Regions from separate parts of the Homo sapiens genome. Here regions 2 and 3 are each linked to region 1. Evidence: promoter capture Hi-C in human tissues and cell types (Jung and others, 2019). All regions are on one chromosome and are shown on one strand. The core of a region is centred on a gene start or on the middle of the fragment in contact, and the rest is flanking DNA. Distances in the headings are between cores, read along the strand shown.

Region 1 (3,106 bases), core at 384-2,883:
TATTTAGTCAGGTTAAAGTTGAAGTAATTCATCTATTAAAGCATTCCCATATTTCTGTATATAACAAGGTGTAATGTTTCCCCAATGATTTAGCAAAAGGGAATGGAAATTACAAAGGCACATGACTAGTGAGTAGGATAGGAATGTGGGTAGAGAAGGGAGAGTAAGGGGTTGGAAAGATTTAATCGTCAGCTACCTGACTCGATCTAGTGCCTTGTCCTTTAAATTACAACTTTCTCTCAAATATCATTTAAAATATTGAAACATCCTTTGTCTACCTCAGAAAGTCCAACTTTCAAACTCGCAGAACAAAAGAATAAAAAAGATACTGTGTGTTCAGTTGATAAAAATGAAGGTGAAATCTTTACACCAAGTTTAATAGTGAATGAAAAATTCTTACAATTAAAAACAGGATGAGGAAAATTTGGTACATTCATTTGTATGCTTCAATCTTCTGCTTTAAACCACGTCAAGAAACTAAAGCAAGAAAAGCTTAACTGTCCCATGTTGTTGTTCACTAAATATAAGATTATCTTTCTAAGTAAGACTTTCAACGTGCTGCTTTTTACATCTTCTAATAGCAGAAGTAACCGCTGTTCTTGGGGAAGAAAGAACTGAAACCAGTCAAACGTTAAAAGTCATGATGGCATTTAGGTGTGAGAGAAAGTTTATCCCTTAATTGCTTGCCTACTTCCCATTCACATTTAATATTGGGGGTAAAGTTTGTTGAGTATTTTCCAGAGAGCACTTTTCACTTCTTTGTTCCTAAGGCTGTATATCAAGGGATTCAGCATGGGAATCACCACTGTGTAAAACACAGAGGCTATTTTGTCTGTGTCCACGGACTGGCTGGAGTTGGGCTGTAAGTACATGAAGATGATTGTGCCATAGAAGATGGACAAAGCAGTGAGATGGGAAGCACAGGTGGAGAAGACTTTCTTCTGCCCTTCAGCAGAATGCATCCTCTGAATGGTGATGCATATGAAGAAGTAAGAAATAAGGATGACCAGGAGGGTGAAAAAGACGTTGAAGCCTGCCACAAAGACCACCAACTTGCTGATGCGTGTGTCAGAGCATGAGAGAGCCAGGAGTGGGGGAATGTCACAGAAGAAATGATTAATCTCATTAGAACCACAGAAGGAGAGTCTGAAGGTGCCTGCTGCATGGATAGAGGCATTGAGGAAGCCAGAGACATAGGAACCAGTAGCAAGGAGGGCACACACACCTGCTGTCATGGTGGTGGTGTAATGAAGAGGCCTACATACCGCTGCATGGCGATCATAGGCCATGGAGGCCAGGAGGTAGCACTCAACAGTGGCAAACCCCACAAAGAAGAAGAACTGAGCTGCACATCCATCGTAGGAGATGGCCTTGTCCCCTGACCGCAATGCAGCCACCGTTTTGGGGGCTACAGCTGATGAGTAACCCAAGTCTACAAGGGAGAGGTTACTGAGGAAAAAGTACATTGGAGTGTGGAGATGGGAGTCTGAGTGGATGATCACCATCATTCCCCCATTCCCAAGCAGGGTGATGAGGTAGATGAATAAAAATGCCAGGAGGAGGGGTATCTGAAGATTGGGGTCATCTGTTAATCCCAAGAGGATAAACTCTGTCACTTCTGTGCTATTCTCCATTGTGGCCAGCTTGAATTAGCCTGGTGATTAAAGAAGAGGCGTCAACAAAATTCCAATGAAAGTATGAGAAGGGAGGATGGAATGATAAAAAAGGAGAAAACTAATGTATAGAGAGAATGTACTGTGTGTAACACTCATCCTAGAACCCTCTGTTATATTATAGCTTTTAATTCATATGAGATAGGTGCTATTATGCCCATCTTACAGATAAGGAAGTTAAGGCTCAGGGAGCTGAATATTGAGCAAGATAGCCTATCTAGGGGTCAGAATCAAAGTTCACCCCTTTATATTTCTGAATCTAAAGTTCATACATTCATCTTGAATTCTTTAACACATTTACATCATATAAATACAAATTATGATGTGGATATAAGATTGTATGTATTTAATTATTAAAAATAAAAACATCCATCACTTATTGTCTTCCACATTCTACTTCCAATAATATAGCCTCACTAAAGATTTTCTAAATTTATTTTTCCTTAAAACAACACAAGTTTATTCTCTCAAAATTCTGGAGGCCAGAAGCCTCAAATCAGTTTCACTGGGCCAAAATCAAGGTGTTGGCAGGACAAGGTGGTGCCCTCAAGGTCTGTTTGATACTAAATCCAAAGATCTTAACCACAACTTTTGAAGCCTTTATAAATTAATCCCTCAACAGTAGTTCAACTGAAAGGGAGTATGGTATATGTAAATATGAGTATGTATTTATATATATTTAATATAAAACTATAAATTTGATATATACAAATGGCTTTGTGTATCTGTGTATATGCATATGTCTTTTTTCACCCCTTATCAGAAGTCTTTGCTGTAGACCCTAATTCCAGTTAAGTCCTCCTTTCTCTCCCTCCTCAAAGCACTTGAGTCTTGGCTGATTATTGCACAATTAGCTGGGCAACCACTCACTCTTCACCTAGCTCTAAGCCCCTTGGGACAGTAACTATCTTCATCCCCTCTGGTCCACTCTCCTTACCATGGCCCCTCACACATGTATGTAAATATTTGGTGAATCAAACAGAACATCAATAGGAAAGTATGGAAATATTTTTCATGCTCTTTAATCCCACAACAAACATCCTATCATCCTCTTGTCTACCAGGTTTGTGCTTTGGGCCAAAATATTAGCTTAGACTTGTCATATGAAAAATATTCAGGAGTAACAGTGAGTTTGCAGATGGTCAGGCCTGGAGACAGGTTTCTGTCCTCATTTTAGAGCATTCTTTCTCTCCTATTTTTGTTCCTCAACCTGAGGTGTTCACAGGCTTTCCCCACTCCTAGTAGCAGAGTGAGTGGGAGCAGACTCAGAAGAAGTGAGGGAGAAAATGTGAGAAGAGAGGAGGAAAAAGGAGAAAACAGGAATTAAAGGAGAAAAATGCTTCAGCTCTGCTGGACTTTAGCTTACCTTGAAGAGTAACAGCAGCAATTTGATTGGTGACACAAAAAGAAGGGGATAGTGTAGCTTGTCCTTT
Region 2 (3,106 bases), core at 332-2,831, 430 kb before region 1:
TCCTGGTTTTCACATTTCTTCACATTTTCTGTTGTAATCAAGCACCTTGATGTGTGGCTGAAAAGCTTCTGCTTACAGTTGCTAATGAGCTTCAGACGGGTGTGGGGTTGTCATCTCTTCAGTGTATTCTGCTGTATATACTGGTAACCAATAGATTAGTCTTCCAAATAACATGAGAGTCTCAGCTGCAAAGTTTAGCAGGTCAAAAAGCATATTACTCGGATGATAACTCAAGGAAACAGGAATGTGGCTTCCTGGACATTTTTCTATCCCCTTTGATATTTCCTTCTGTGAACCTATTCTTCTTGCAGATGCTTTAATACCATATGGAGGATCAGTGATTACTGCATTAAAATATGTGCCATTCTCCAGGAAAGTTTAGATGTATCTGAAACCAGGACATTTAATATGGTCAATCATATTTGTCAAAATGTATTAGAGAAAGTATTACCTTCTCTAAACCATACTGACAAAGATTTGCCCTAATGTTTTCATCTGGTCCTCTCCATTTCTGGTTTTTCTTACCTGCCTTTCCTGAGCCATAAACTGTGTTGTAGTTGATGCCTGTCTCATATACATATGCATCGAAATGAGCAGATGCTATCAGGAGGCCTCCTGTTCCAGCAAATGGATCAAAATCAGTATCATTTTCTCTTTTCCATAATTAGTCACAATGAATGACAAACCGGCATCCATGCTTGTATTTCCAATAAAGTGTCTCATTTTGACAGTGTATGACTCAATAAGCTCTCTCTGTCCATCTGTGATCTATCTACTAAAATAAATATTATGCGAATTCTTAGGGATGCAGTTTGGGTCCAAACCATAATTCTCCAAAATATAGAATATATGTTGTGGCATCTTTAAATTTACAGAATTTAAATGGCAGAAATCCAACTGCTTTATTCATTTGACTTTTTCTTCTTATGTCAATGTTTTATTACATGTGTGAATCTTTATTTTATACACAGAGTATGAATATACAAATAGAACTTAGCACACACTGTACGTTTCGTTACATTTCTTGCAATACCTTCAGAAAGAATGCTAAGAATCCAAAATGGCGACTTTCTGTAAGTTTCCTGTCTGCAGGTGAACTGACCTCCAAAAAATGATAGCGAAGACTTTGTTTTTATTTTATTTTTTATTATACTTTAAGTTCTGGGATACATGTGCAGAACATGCAGGTTTGTTACATAGGTGTACATGTGCCATGGTGGTTTGCTGCACCCACCAACCTGTCATCTAGATTTTAAGCCCCTCATATATTAGGTATTTCTCCTAATGCTATCCCTCCCCTTGCCCCCCATGCCCTTACAGGCCCTGGTGTGTGATGTTTCCCTCCCTGTGTCCATGTGTTCTCATTGTTCAACACCTACTTATGAGTGAGAACATGCAGTGTTTGGTTTTCTATTCCTGTGTTAGTTTGCTGAGAATGATGTCTTCCAGCTTCATCCATGTCCTCGCAAAGGACATGAACTCATTCTTTTTTATGGCTGCATAGTAGTCCATGGTGTATATGTGCCACATTTTCTTTATCTAGTCTATCATTGATGGGCATTTGGGTTTGCTATTGTAAATTGTGTTGCAATAGTCTTTGCTATTATAAATAGTGCTGCAATAAACATATGTGTGCATGTGTCTTTAAAGTAGAATGATTTATCATCCTTTGGGTATATACACAGTAATGGGATTGTTGAGTCAAATGGTATTTCTAGTTCTAGATCCTTGAGGAATCACCACACTCTCCACTTCCTCTCCAGTATCTGTTGTTTCCTGACTTTTTAATGATTACCATTCTAATTGGTATGAGATGGTATCTCATTGTGGTTTTGATTTGCATTTCTCTAATGACCAGTGATGATGAGCTTGTTTTCATATGTTTGTTGGCCACATAAATATCTTCTTTTGAGAAGTGTGTTCATATCCTTTGCCCACTTTTTGATGGAGTTGTTTTTTTTTCTTGTAAATTTGTTTAAGTTCCTTGTAGATTCTGGATATTAGACTTTTGTCGGATGGATAGATTGCAACAATTTTCTCCCATTCTGTAGTTTGCCTTTTCACTCTGATGATATTTTCCTTTGCTGTGCAGAAGTTCTTTAGTTTAATTAGGTCCCATTTATCAATTTTGGCTTTTGTTACAATTGCTTTCGGTGTTTTAGTTATGAAGTCTTTGCCCATGCCTATGTCCTGAGTGGTATTGCCTAGGTTTTCTTCTAGGATTTTTTATGGTTTTAGGTTTTGCATTGAAGTCTTTAATCCATCTTAGTTAATTTTTGTATAAGGTGTAAGGAAGGGGTCCAGTTTCAGTTTTCTGCATATGGTTAACCAGTTTTCCCAACACTATTTATTTAATGGGGAATCCTTTCTCCATTTCTTGTTTTTGTCAGGTTTGTCAAAGATCAGATGGTTTTAGATGTGTGGTGTTATTTCTGAGGCCTCTGTTCTGTTCCTTTGGTCTGTATATCTGTTTTGGTACCAGTACCATGCTGTTTTGGTTACTGTAGCCTTGTAGTATAGTTTGAAGTCAGGTAGCATGATGCCTCTGGCTTTGTTCTTTTTGCTTAAGATTGTCTTGGCTCTACGGGATATTTTTTGCTTCCATATGAAATTTAAAGTAGTTTTTTTCTAATTCTGTGAAGAAAGTCAATGGTAGCTTGATGGGAGTAGCAATGATTCTATAAATTACCTTGGGCAGTATGGCCATTTTCATGATATTGATTCTTCCTATCCAGGAGCATAGAATGTTTTTCCATTTGTTTGTGTCCTCTGTCATTTCCTTGAGCAGTGGTTTTTAGTTCTCCTTGAAGAGGTCCTTCATGTCCCTTGTAAGTTGTATTCCTAGGGATTTTATTCTCTAGCGAAGACTTTATTAAAGCAGACAGAACTTCAGGAGCTGCCATGAGCAGCAGACACCTGTTTAGGGTGCACGGCAGCTGTGCCCCCCAAATCCATACATTGAAACCTGATCACCAACGTGATGGTGTTAGGAGGTGGAAATTTTGGGAGGTGCTTAGGTCATGATAGCAGAACCTTGATGAATGGAATTAGTTCCTTTCTGAAAGAGGCTTCAGGGAGCTGCTGGTCTCTTTCTTTGACTTGAAGG
Region 3 (3,106 bases), core at 193-2,692, 350 kb before region 1:
AGGTAGAAGGCTCTGATCTTCAGTGACAGAAAGAGACAGAGAGAGAGAGAAGAATGAGGCAATGGCGTAATAGATGGACAGAAAATACTGCCTGAATTCTCACGGGATTTCCAGTGGGAAATCTTCAGCCCAGCTGTAATCGTGGCTTGGCTTCTGGATACACATATCCTTATAATAAATTTCCTTTTGTTTTTGTTTTGCTCAGGCTTATTCTGTTTTTTTTTTTTTAGACAGAGCCTTACTCTGTCACCCAGGCTGGAGTGCAATGGCACTGTCTAGGCTCACTGCAACCTCTGCCTTCTGGGCTTAAGCGATTCTCCTGCATCAGCCTCCCAAGTAGCTAGGAGTACAGGTGCCTGGCTAATTTTTGTATTTTTAGTAGAGATGGGGTTTCGCTCTGTTAGCCAGGCTGGTCTCGAACTCCCGGCCTCAGGTGATCCTCCCACCTGGGTCTCCCAAAGTGCTGGGATTACAGGCGTGAGCCACCGCACCCGGCCCTCTGGTTGATTTTTGTTACTTGAAACTAGAGAGTCCAAACTGTTATATCCAATTAATCAGAACCTCCTTGTTTCTCCAGAAAGCAACAGCAAGCTCAAGGTTCCTCAAAATAGCATTGCTCAGAGCTTTCCTCGCCTCCTTAAAGCATGTATAGAGCTCCACGTAGGTGCTAATTGGCAACTGGATACTGATCACACTGACTTGGTTAAGGTGGCTAAATAGCTTACTCATGCCATTCCTGTGTGGAACCTTTTGATTTATATTTTAGAGAAACAAGAAAACAAAGGAGTTCTTGAAGAAGGTTCCTAACAGTTACACTCACCTTCTTTGTAACTGTGTAACATGCTAACATACCATTATTGTCATTCATTACGAGTAACAAGAAGTCATTATAAGTAAAAATGTCCTAACTTCTCTGAGAAAATCACCTTTCATCTTTTGGAAATGTTACGTTTTGTTTGAATGTATTATCTGTAATCATACATGGAAGGAGACTCGCTCTAATAATGGGTTTTCACAGTGTTGAAACTCAGGCTTTCTAACTTGCAACAGTAGCAAGGTTGTGGTTAATGAATCCATGCTGCTAAAATTGTTTCAGAGCGAGGAATAGGAGGGAGCCTTGTATTGGTGAAGCTGTCTATGCCACGCTATGGTAGTTGGAAGAAAACCTTTCTGGGTCTTTGGAAAAGGTAGGGCACTAAGGGAAGGGTGATTTTATTTTCTGACGCTGTAAAGAGCAGCAAAGGCAGAGGAGTGAGAACAATGTTCACTACAGTACCAGCTGGTAATACTAAGAAGGTTATTTAATACCTTCTTTCTGAAAAAATGTGACATAAGAAAAATGAAATAATAATTCATATATTTTGAGTGCTTCCTATATGCCAGGTGAGAGACTAATGACATCTCTGTAAAGTTGGTGGGTGTCAGGTGAGTGACCTTGGGTAACCTTCATCCCTCCTACCCCATGTCTTTGTTACTGTTTCAGCAGAATGGGGAGAATCACATATTCTCGGATCTTCGCAGAGCTCTTCTGAGGACAAAATGGAAGGGACATTGTTCTGAAAGGTCAAAGGTATCCTGTAAATATAAGAGCTTAGCAAGTTTTCTTTCTTTGTCTCTTTCTCTAGTAAGAAAGATGGGGTGGAAAGAAAGTGAGAGAGAAGCTTTGTTTGGAATTTACAGAGGGGTGAATCAGATAGGCAATAAATACAATAAGTACATCATATGTTATGTTAGAAGGTGACAATTCCTATGGTGAAAATGAAGCCAGGGTCAGAAGAATAGGGAATGTGCAATTTTAAGTATCTTGCTCAAATTTTAATTTTAAGGTTCAGCTCAAATGCCACTTCCTTGGAAATCATCTCCCCTGAATTTTATCCTGGTATGGGAATGATTGATTACATATATGGCTTACCTCTAACAGTAAAGTATAAAATTTTTGAAGGCAGGAAATATGTGTGTGTATCTGTGTGTGTATAAATTTCAGCCCTGGTCTCTAGACCACCTTTCTTAATCAAAAATGAGAAATGATTGAATGTGCAGATGGTCCCCACCTGTCCCCTTCCTGGCTCCACCTTTGTCAAAGGAGTTTCCTCCTGACCTTGCTCTCTTCCTTTTTCTTGTCTGGACATTTTGAGACTCATAAAAAATGCATGTGCAGATGCTAAGAATAATTACCACAATTTCTCAGCTGCAGAGAGCTGGTAAAGGTCATGCCAACTTGCTGTCTGTGCCAGTTGCTTCTCTGGGCAGTGCACTTGTCCTAGTTATTTTTCCCTAAGGTTTTCTTTGTGTTAAAGATTAAAGGACAAACTTGATGAAGTGCCTGATTCCAGGGAGGGCAAACTAGAGGCTACAATGGGCCTTGCCTTTTCCTAGGTGGATCAGTTTCCATTCTACCTATTCTAGGTAAATAGCTGGGCAGGGGGCCGTTCTCCCAGGACACAGCTGGCGAGGGTGGCAGAGCCTGTGATTCATGACATTATTCTGACTGAGGAAACTGGACCTTGGAAGATAAATGATTCCTCATGGGACAAGTCAGAACTAGAATTCAGGCTCCCTTAACCATTCTTAGCGATGGCCCAACTGGGTGTACAGCTTTTAGAAATGGAGATTGAAGAGAAACCTTCTCTTTTCCTACATGAAAGGGGCTATTTGCATATAAATAATCCCAATATCAGCAGTAATCTCTCCTTGGAGACCCACACTGGCCACGGATTGGCTATGACAGTGTTGGGGCAAAACAAACTAGTAGAGTCTTACGCTGGAGCCGGAGCCTGCAGACAGAGGATATTCCCCCACCTTGTCTCGGCTTGCAGGGGTTGGGGGGATGCGCATGTAGGGATTTATGGGAAGGGAAAGAGGAGGAGAAGAGAATGATAAAATTAAATCCTTCCACGTTCCTGTCTTTAGGTGGCCAAATTATGATTATTTCATATTGCTTTGAGGAGTTAATAAGAAAAACGGATGATGATATGGAAGGCCAGAGTGATAAGAGACTTACCTGGGACCACATAGCTAGTCAAGGATGGTGGTGGGGATGGGGCAGGCGGTGGGAATGAAGAACCACGTGTCTGGTTGCCCATGCGGTGCTCTTTTTCTATATCCT

What was found. Contacts are between HindIII fragments. The study calls those that stand out against the background at their distance.
Region 2: a fragment that was not itself captured here is called in contact with the fragment with the promoter of OR5B21 in region 1 in 1 of the 25 tissues and cell types used here (thymus).
Region 3: a contact is called between a fragment that was not itself captured here and the fragment with the promoter of OR5B21 in region 1, in 1 of the 25 tissues and cell types used here (IMR-90 fibroblasts).

Annotation. Positions count from the first base shown.
Region 1 is chr11:58,506,472-58,509,577 of GRCh38, forward strand. It overlaps OR5B21 (olfactory receptor family 5 subfamily B member 21), which reads right to left and starts at 1,634. Exons shown (of 1, transcript NM_001005218.3): 1 at 336-1,634. The coding sequence starts at 1,634. The coding sequence ends at 705. The region is part of intron 2 of LOC105369313 (a long non-coding RNA gene); the gene reads right to left. The HindIII fragment of the contact is 9,451 bases long and covers 1-3,106 here.
Region 2 is chr11:58,072,502-58,075,607 of GRCh38, forward strand. The region is part of intron 2 of OR9Q1 (olfactory receptor family 9 subfamily Q member 1); the gene reads left to right. It also overlaps the pseudogene LOC100421793. Among named protein-coding and RNA genes, the nearest start is that of OR6Q1, 43 kb to the left of the region's middle. The HindIII fragment of the contact is 9,121 bases long and covers 1-3,106 here.
Region 3 is chr11:58,161,335-58,164,440 of GRCh38, forward strand. All of the region lies in intron 2 of OR9Q1 (olfactory receptor family 9 subfamily Q member 1), which reads left to right. Among named protein-coding and RNA genes, the nearest start is that of OR9Q2, 26 kb to the right of the region's middle. The HindIII fragment of the contact is 7,939 bases long and covers 1-3,106 here.